Regions from separate parts of the Homo sapiens genome. Here all the other regions are linked to region 2. The links are contacts of gene promoters, found by promoter capture Hi-C in blood cells and fetal thymus (Javierre and others, 2016). All regions are on one chromosome and are shown on one strand. The core of a region is centred on a gene start or on the middle of the fragment in contact, and the rest is flanking DNA. Distances in the headings are between cores, read along the strand shown. Region 1 overlaps RELB (RELB proto-oncogene, NF-kB subunit). Region 2 holds the start of MARK4 (microtubule affinity regulating kinase 4). Region 3 overlaps CLASRP (CLK4 associating serine/arginine rich protein).

What was found. The method cuts DNA at HindIII sites, captures the fragments that hold promoters and counts their contacts. A CHiCAGO score of 5 or more calls a contact.
Region 1: a fragment that was not itself captured here is called in contact with the fragment with the promoter of MARK4 in region 2 in 1 of 17 cell types (M0 macrophages); the score reaches 5.4 in M0 macrophages.
Region 3: a contact is called between a fragment that was not itself captured here and the fragment with the promoter of MARK4 in region 2, in 1 of 17 cell types (non-activated CD4 T cells). The highest score is 5.4, in non-activated CD4 T cells.

Annotation. Positions count from the first base shown.
Region 1 is chr19:45,010,199-45,012,907 of GRCh38, forward strand. RELB (RELB proto-oncogene, NF-kB subunit) reads left to right here. Exons shown (of 12, transcript NM_006509.4): 4 at 1,738-2,078. Among named protein-coding and RNA genes, the nearest start is that of RELB, 10 kb to the left of the region's middle. RefSeq lists an enhancer at 1,435-1,936. The HindIII fragment of the contact is 8,461 bases long and covers 1-2,709 here.
Region 2 is chr19:45,249,916-45,252,615 of GRCh38, forward strand. MARK4 (microtubule affinity regulating kinase 4) reads left to right here and starts at 1,356. Exons shown (of 17, transcript NM_001199867.2): 1 at 1,356-1,724. The coding sequence starts at 1,674. RefSeq lists silencers at 1,031-1,410, 1,641-1,790 and an enhancer at 2,264-2,700. The HindIII fragment of the contact is 10,557 bases long and covers 1-2,700 here.
Region 3 is chr19:45,041,099-45,043,798 of GRCh38, forward strand. The region is part of intron 2 of CLASRP (CLK4 associating serine/arginine rich protein); the gene reads left to right. Among named protein-coding and RNA genes, the nearest start is that of CLASRP, 3.4 kb to the left of the region's middle. The HindIII fragment of the contact is 4,283 bases long and covers 1-2,700 here.

The DNA.
Region 1 (2,709 bases), core at 133-2,632, 240 kb before region 2:
AGGCTGAAGTGGGAGGATCACCTGAGCCTGGGAGGTTGCCTTGGAAGCCGAGGCTGCAGTGAGCTATGATTGCACCACTGCACTGCAGCCTGGGCGGCAGAGCAAGACCGTGTCTCAAAAAGAAAACCAATTAAAATAAAATAATGTTATTAATCCCCTAGTGAGTACAGACAGACACTGTTTTAGGCCCTGGGGATTTAGCCATGAACAAAACCAAGTCCCTGCCCTCGCAGAGCTGATAGCCCGGTGTGGGAGACAGAGGAAAATGAACAGATGAGCAAGATAATGTTAGCCTGGGCTGAGAGCTGTGAAAGAAATAAACAGGACGAGGGAGAGATGGCCTGGAGAAGACACATTAGGTTAGGCTTTTCTGAAGAGATAACATACGAGCTGAGACCAGGAGGAGAAGCAGCCAGCATGGGTTGAATGGGGGACCGTGTGGAACAGGCAGTTGGAGGAGCAAGTTCTTTCTTATTTATTTATTTAAGTTATTTTTTGAGACAGAGTCTCGCTCTGTCGCCCAGGCTGGAGTGCAGTGGTGCTGTCTCAGCTCACTGCAACCTCCACCTCCCAGGTTCAAGCAATTCTCCTGCCTCAGCCTCCCGAGTAGCTGGGAGTACAGGCATGCACCAACATACCTGGCTCATTTTTGTATTTATTTATCTATTTATTTAGAGATGGAATTTCGCTCTTGTTGCCCAGGCTGGAGTGCAATGGCATGATCTTGGCTCACTGCAACCTCCACCTCCCAGGTTTAAGTGATTCTCCTGCCTCTGCCTCCCGAGTAGCTGGAACTGCAGGCACACATCACCATGCCCAATTTTTATATTTTTAGTGGAGATGGGGTTTCACCATGTTCGCCAGGCAGGTCTCAAACTCCTGACCTCAGGTGATCCGCCTGCCTCGGCCTCCCAAAGTGCTGGGATTACAGGCGTGAGCCACCATGCCCAGCCTATTTATTTATTTATTATTATTATTTTTTGAGATGGAGTCTTGCTCTGTTGCGCAGGATGGAGTGCAGTGACGCAATCTCGGCTCACTGCAACCTCCGCCTGACGGTTTCAAGCGATTCTCCTGCCTCAGCCTCCTGAGTTGCTGGGACTACAGGCACGTGCCACCATGCCTGGCTAATTTTTTGTATTTTTAGTAGAGACAGGGTTTCACTGTGTTAGCCAGGATGGTCTCGATCTCCTGACCTCATGATCCGCCCGCCTCGGCCTCCCGAAATGCTGGGATTACAGGCATGAGCCACCGCGCCCAGCCTATTATTTATTGAGAGACGGAGTCTCACTCTGTCGCCCAGGCTGGCGTGCAGTGTCACGATCTTGACTTACTGCAGTGTCCGCCTCCTGGGTTCAAGCTGTTCTCCTGCCTCAGCCTCCTGAGTAGCTGGGATTACAGACGTGGGAGACCATTCGGGCTAATTTTTGTAGAGACGGGGTTTCACTATGTTGGCCAGGCTGGTCTCGAACTCCTGACCTCAATTGATTCACCCACCTTGGCCTCCCAAGGTGTTGGGATTACAGGCGTGAGCCACCGCACCTGGCCTCCCTGACTCTGTGTGTGTGTGTGTGTGTGTGTGTGTGTGTGTGTGTGTGTGAGAGAGAGAGAGAGAGAGAGAGAGAGAGAGAGAGAGATAAATGGGATGGAAAACGTCTCGGGGGTAATCAAGCCTTTTTTTTTTTTTTTAATTTTTTAAAGAATGGGCGTCACCACCCGTTTTTTCTTCTCCCGCAGAGATCATCGACGAGTACATCAAGGAGAACGGCTTCGGCCTGGACGGGGGACAGCCGGGCCCGGGCGAGGGGCTGCCACGCCTGGTGTCTCGCGGGGCTGCGTCCCTGAGCACGGTCACCCTGGGCCCTGTGGCGCCCCCAGCCACGCCGCCGCCTTGGGGCTGCCCCCTGGGCCGACTAGTGTCCCCAGCGCCGGGCCCGGGCCCGCAGCCGCACCTGGTCATCACGGAGCAGCCCAAGCAGCGCGGCATGCGCTTCCGCTACGAGTGCGAGGGCCGCTCGGCCGGCAGCATCCTTGGGGAGAGCAGCACCGAGGCCAGCAAGACGCTGCCCGCCATCGAGGTGGGCCCGGCGAGCGGCCCCGGGCGGGTGGGACTGGGGCTTCCCCTGCACCCCGGAGCCATCCACATGCATTTATACGTTTATTTGATGGTGGCTGTTGTTGTTATTGTTGGACCAGATATTAATTATACTATCACCTGGCCTGGAATCCAAAAGGTTCAGAAAAAAGGAGGGGTCGGACATTTGGCTGGGCACGGTGACTCGCGCCTGTAATCCCAGTACTTTGGGAGTCTGAGGCGGGCGGATCCCTTGATGTCAGGAGTTCGAGACCAGCCTGGCCAACATGGTGAAACCCCATCTGTACTAAAAGTACACAAATTAGCCGAGTGTGGTGGCACAATCCCAGCTATTTAGGAGGCCGAGGTGGGAGGATTAGCTGAGCCCAGGGAGGTGCAGGCTGCTGTGAGCTGAGATTGCACCATTGCATAGCAGTCTGGGTAACAGAGTGAGACCTTGTCTCAAAAAAAAAGAAAAAAAAAAAAGAAGGCAGATCGTGGTGCGGTGGCTCAGGCTTGTAATTCTAGCACTTTGGGAGGTCGAGGCGAGCGGATCACTCGAGCTCAGGAGTTCTAGATGAGCCTGGGCAAGACGGCAAAACCCCATCTCTACAAAAAATACAAAAATTAGCCAG
Region 2 (2,700 bases), core at 106-2,605:
ATAGTAATTTTACTGTGCAGCTACAATAGACGTAGGTAACCTCAAGATCACAGATAATGGCAAATGTAGTAAGATAACTAGGACGTGATGAGTATGTATTACTTGTACCTTTAATGTAATTTAATTGTATGTTTGCATAATTTAATTTTTAATAATGGCTGTGTTTAACAACCAGTTCCAAAATTCCTGAGACATAACAATCAGCTCGCTCCAGCCAGATCCAGCACACTGCTGTTTTAGAAGGGGAAACTGAGGCTCAGGAAAATAAGCCTCAGATAGAAGAAGGCAGGGCACAGACCCCTTCCCAAAACCATGTGACTCCCAGGCCAAGACTATGTAATGCCTGTCTTTCTTTCATCCCACCCTGGTCCACAGAGCATGGATGGTCCCCACAGCGCTGTGTGGCCTCCGAGAGGCTCTTGTCCTCTCTGGTCTCAGCCTGCCCGCATGGGGAGTGGCTGTGCCCTGCAGGCGAATACCTGCACAGGGTTCCTTCGCACCTGCCAGTGAGCAACACACGGATTCTTCCTTTCACTTTACAAACTGGGAAAGTGAAGCCCAGAAAGGGCAAGTGCTTGCCCCGGGTCATACAGGTGGACAGAGAGGGTCCCCACACCCCAGCTGGGGTGCAAAGGAGTGGATGCTGCAGCCCCAACCTGCGGGTCTGGATCTATGTGGCTGAGTGGAGGCAGCCTGACTAGGGAGGTCACTGAGCCCTCAGCAGTGGCCAAGCCCCGCACACCATCCCCTTCACCCACCCCACCCTTAGGCCTCCGAGGGGAGAGCTTCCCCCGCTCCCCCCCGCCAACTGGGGAGAGAATGGGCCAGGGGGAGGGACAATGTGGGCAGCGCCTCTGGGGTCTTCTCTGGCTCAGTCCCTTTATCTCTATCTCTTCACAGATCTCTGCGTCTCTGTATCTCTTTGTCTCTCCCTGTGTGTGTGTGGGGTCTCTCTCAGTCTTTGTCCCTCTGCGTCTCTGGGTCTCTCTGTCTCTGTCTCCCTGCGTCTCTCTCTCTCTGTCATCTGGCTCTTCCTTCATCTCCTTGCGCCTCTCCACCCTTTTGTAACTCGTCTCTCTCTCTTCGTGTCTCTCTATCTCTACGTCTCTCGATCTCTCTCTCTGCGTCTCTGGCGCTCTGCCCCGGCCTCTCTCTCCCCTTCTCTCCTCTCCAGTGCGCCTCTCGTCTCGGGCGAGAACACGCTCCCCGCCGGCGTGCCCAGACCCGCCTCCGCCCCCGGAGCCCCCGGAGCCCCCGGCGCCCCGACCAGCCCGGGCCTGCGCCTTTAAGGGCCGGCGGCGGGGGGCGGGGTCCCGGCGCCCCGCCCTGCCCGCCCCTCCCCCTGACGTCCCTTCCTCCCTCCCCAGCCCCTCCACCGCCTCCCTCCGCCGCCGCTTGGGCCGGCTCCGCGCCCCCTCCGCGGCCCCCGCCCGCCCGCCTGCCCGCCGCCCCCATGGCGCCCGGGGTCCCCGCTGCACGGGGCCACTAGGACCCTCGGCGTCCCTTCCCCTCCCCCGCCCTGCCCCCTCTCCCGCCGCGCGGACCCGGGCGTTCTCGGCGCCCAGCTTTTGAGCTCGCGTCCCCAGGCCGGCGGGGGGGGAGGGGAAGAGAGGGGACCCTGGGACCCCCGCCCCCCCCACCCGGCCGCCCCTGCCCCCCGGGACCCGGAGAAGATGTCTTCGCGGACGGTGCTGGCCCCGGGCAACGATCGGAACTCGGACACGGTGAGTGGGGCCCGGCCCCTTGGGGAGCCCTGGCTGGGTCCAGCCGCCAAACCCTTCTCCCCGTTGTACCCCTCGCCCCGCGAGCCCCTACCCTCGTTTCCTGGGCCCGACCCGGCTCGTCACCTCTCGACCCCTCCCGGACTTCCAGGCCTCTCCACCCTCCCCACCTTTTCCAGCCCAGCCCGACCCCTGGGGGCGCCCCTCTCTCGGGACCCCTCTCTTGTCCCCGTGCAGACCGCTTCCGCTCGGGTCTGTTCCCTCCAGGAAGCCCCTTCCCCTGCTTCCAGGAGCCCCTCCCTTCTCTTGCCTGTGCTAAGCCGTTTCCCCTCCAGGCCGTCCGCGTCCGACACCTCGCCCCCTCCCGGATTTGCAGGGCCCCTGACCCCCCAAGGCCCGGCCCTGGCACTCTCAGCAGGGCCTGGCCCAGTCCTGCCTCTGGCTCCGGCCTTCCCTGTCTGGGGCTGGGTGCCGGCTCCCCAGGAGCCCCCCTCCTCTTATTCCCAGCCCTCTGCCCCTCCAGGACGCACCCAGGGCGCCTGTGGGCAGCCCCTGGCAGGAAGCTGGTTTCCACCTCTCCTGGGCCCCGGCCCTTTTCTGGCTTCTTCAAGGTCTCTCCCGTCCCAGGCCTGGTCCCCATCTTCCAAGCAGCCCTGTCCCTAGATCCCAGCACCCCGGGGCCCCCAGATGCCACCTGGACCCTTTCTGGTCTCTTCCTCTCCCAGGAAGCCTTGGCCTCCAACTTCTAGGCCCTCACCTCACCCAGGCTGGTATTTCTAGGCCCTGGACCAGTCTGACTCCAGGCCTCATCCGCCCTCTATCAACTTCTCAGCTTCAGGCAGCCCCTTCCCCAACCCCCAACCTCTGGACCCCCTGCTAGGCCAAACTCAGACCCCTTCCCCACAAACCACCGTCCTTTCTCCTGCCCCAGGGCCTCCCCCTTCCTTGCTGGGAGTCTGGCCTTCCAAGGAAGCCCCCT
Region 3 (2,700 bases), core at 37-2,536, 210 kb before region 2:
TAGTCCCAGCTACTCGGGAGGCTGAGGCAGGAGAATGGTGTGAACCGGGGAGGGGGGCAGAGCGGAGCCTGCAGTGAGCTGAGATAGCACCATTGCACTCCAGCCTGGGCGACAGCGAGACTCTGTCTCAAAAAAAAAAAAAAAAAGACTGTCTCAAAAAAAAAGGAGTGAATATTAAGTGAAACCTGACCACTTCCCTCTCCTGTCTGATGCTTCAGTTGTTTTTGCGGGGAAGACCAAACTATCCCTGGCCTAAAAGACCCTTGTGGTCTGACCACTCAGCTTCATACTCGGACAGCTCCACTGGCCTTCTATTTCTGCCACCACAGGGCTTTGGCCTATATTACCCCCCCTCACCTATTTAACTCCTGTGTATCCTTGGGATCCCAGCTTGAAATGGCACCTGTTTTCTAGGTTCAGTGTTCCTGTCAGATGACATTTATATAGACCTTTCCCAGTTATTCCTGTATTACTGCCCCAGCCTCCTCCCTGGTCTGCTGGCCTCCAGTCCTGGCTCCTCCAGTCTGTCCTTCCTAGAAGAGTCCAAGAGGCCTTTCTAAAGCACAAAACTGACCCTGTCCCTTCGTTGCTCAGAGCACCTCTATGCCTCCTAAGTGCCCTTGAGAGAAAGCCCAGGCTCCTCACTGTGGCCTTTAGGGTCCTGCATGGCCTGGCCTTTGCCCTTCCTCCAGACTCACACCACCCCACACTCTGCCTTGTTCCTTTGCACAAGTCATTTTGGCCTCCTTGCTATTCCTCCACTGACCCAAGCGCTCCCCAGCCACAGGACCTTTGTATGAGCTCTTCCCATACCTGGTTAACTACTGCTTATCTGTCAGATCTCAGTCCTCAGAGAAGTCTTGTTTCCCAAGCTCAGTCAGGTGTCCTCTAAAAATGCCATAATCATAGCTCCCTTTCCTTCCCCTTTGTGGAATTTAACACACTTAAGATACACATACATGGGCCTGGTGTGGTGGCTCACGCCTGTAATCCCAGCATTTTGGGGGCCAAGGCAGGTGGATCACCTCAGGTCAAGAGTTTGAGACCAGCCTGGCTAACATGATGAAACCTCGTCTCTACTAAAAATACAGAAATTAGCTGGAGGTGGTGAGGAGCCTGGGCTTTCTCTCAAGGGCACTTAGGAGCCATAGAGGTGCTCTGAGCAATGAAGGGACAGGGTCAGTTTTGTGCTTTAGAAAGGCCTCCTGGACTCTTCTAGGGAGGACAGACTGGAGGAGCCAGGACTGGAGGCCAGCAGACCAGGGAAGAGGCTGGGGCAGTAATACAGGAGTAAATGGTAATCCCAGCTACTCGGGAGGCTGAGGCAGGAGAATTGCTTGAACCCGGGAGGCATAGGTTGCATTGCTCTCCAGCCTGGGCAACAGAGTGAGACTCCATCTCAAAAAAAAAATTTATATATATATATATATGTGTGTGTATGTATGTATACACACACGCACACACATACGCATACACAGGTTGAACATCCCTAATTCAAAATCCGAAATGCTCCAAAATCTTTTTTTTTTTTTGAGGCAGAGTCTTGCTTAGTCGCCCAGGCTGGAGTGCAGTGGCATGATGTCAGCTCACTGTAACGTCCACCCCCCAGGTTCAAGCTATTCTCCTGCCTCACTCAACCTCCTGAGTAGCTGGAATTACAGGCATGTGCCACTATGCCTGGCTAATTTTTGCACTTTTGGTAGAGACAGGGTTTCACCATGTTGGTCAGGCTAGTCTTGAACTCCCGACCTCAAGTGATTTGCTTGCCTCGGCCTCCCAAAGTGCTGGGATTACAGGCGTGAGCCACCACGCCCGGCTAGCTCCAAAATCTGAAACTTTCTGCATACTGACATGATGCCCCACTATAAGTGGAAAGTTTCACATATAAGTACTTTACACAAACTTTGTTTCATGCACAAAATTATTTAAAATATTGTATACAATTACCTTCAGGCTGTGCTTATAAAGTATAAATGAATTTGGTCTTTGGACTTGGGTGCCATCCCTAAGATATCTCATTATGAATAGACAAATATTCCAAAATCTGAAAAAATCTGAAGCACCTCTGATCCCAAGCACTTCAGATAAGGAATACTTTGTGTGTGTGTGTGTGTGTGTGTGTGTGTGTGTGTGTGTGTCCCGTCTCTACTACAAATACAAAAAATTAGCTGGGCGTGGTGGTGGGCACCTGTACTCCCAGCTACTCGGGAGGCTGAGGCAGGAGAATGGCATGAACCCGGGAGACAGAGCTTGCAGTGAGCCGAGATAGTGCCACTGCACTCCAGCCTGGGCGACAGAGCGAGACTCCGTCCCAAAAAAAAAAAAAAAAAAAAAAATTTTTTCCATTCATACGTATATGCACATACCCAGCTCTGTGAGACTGGGGACTAATTATATTTGGGTCACGTTTGTACCCTAGGGTTGGGTCCATCAAATATGGTTTGAAAGAATAGATGAATAAAACAATATTAACAATAGTAATTAACCATTTAATTGATCCTTCGCAGGCACCCCCAGGCCATGTGAGAGATGCAGGATTTTTTTTGAATCCCCACAGTCACCTGTGAGACAGAGACCGCTCTTACTTCCACTCAGCAGAGAAGAGGAAGCTCTGAGAGCTCCTTGCTTACCTCTGCCACCCAGGAAGGAACCACGGGGCTAAAGGGAGAACTCATCTCCGATAGTGTCAGAAAGATGTGA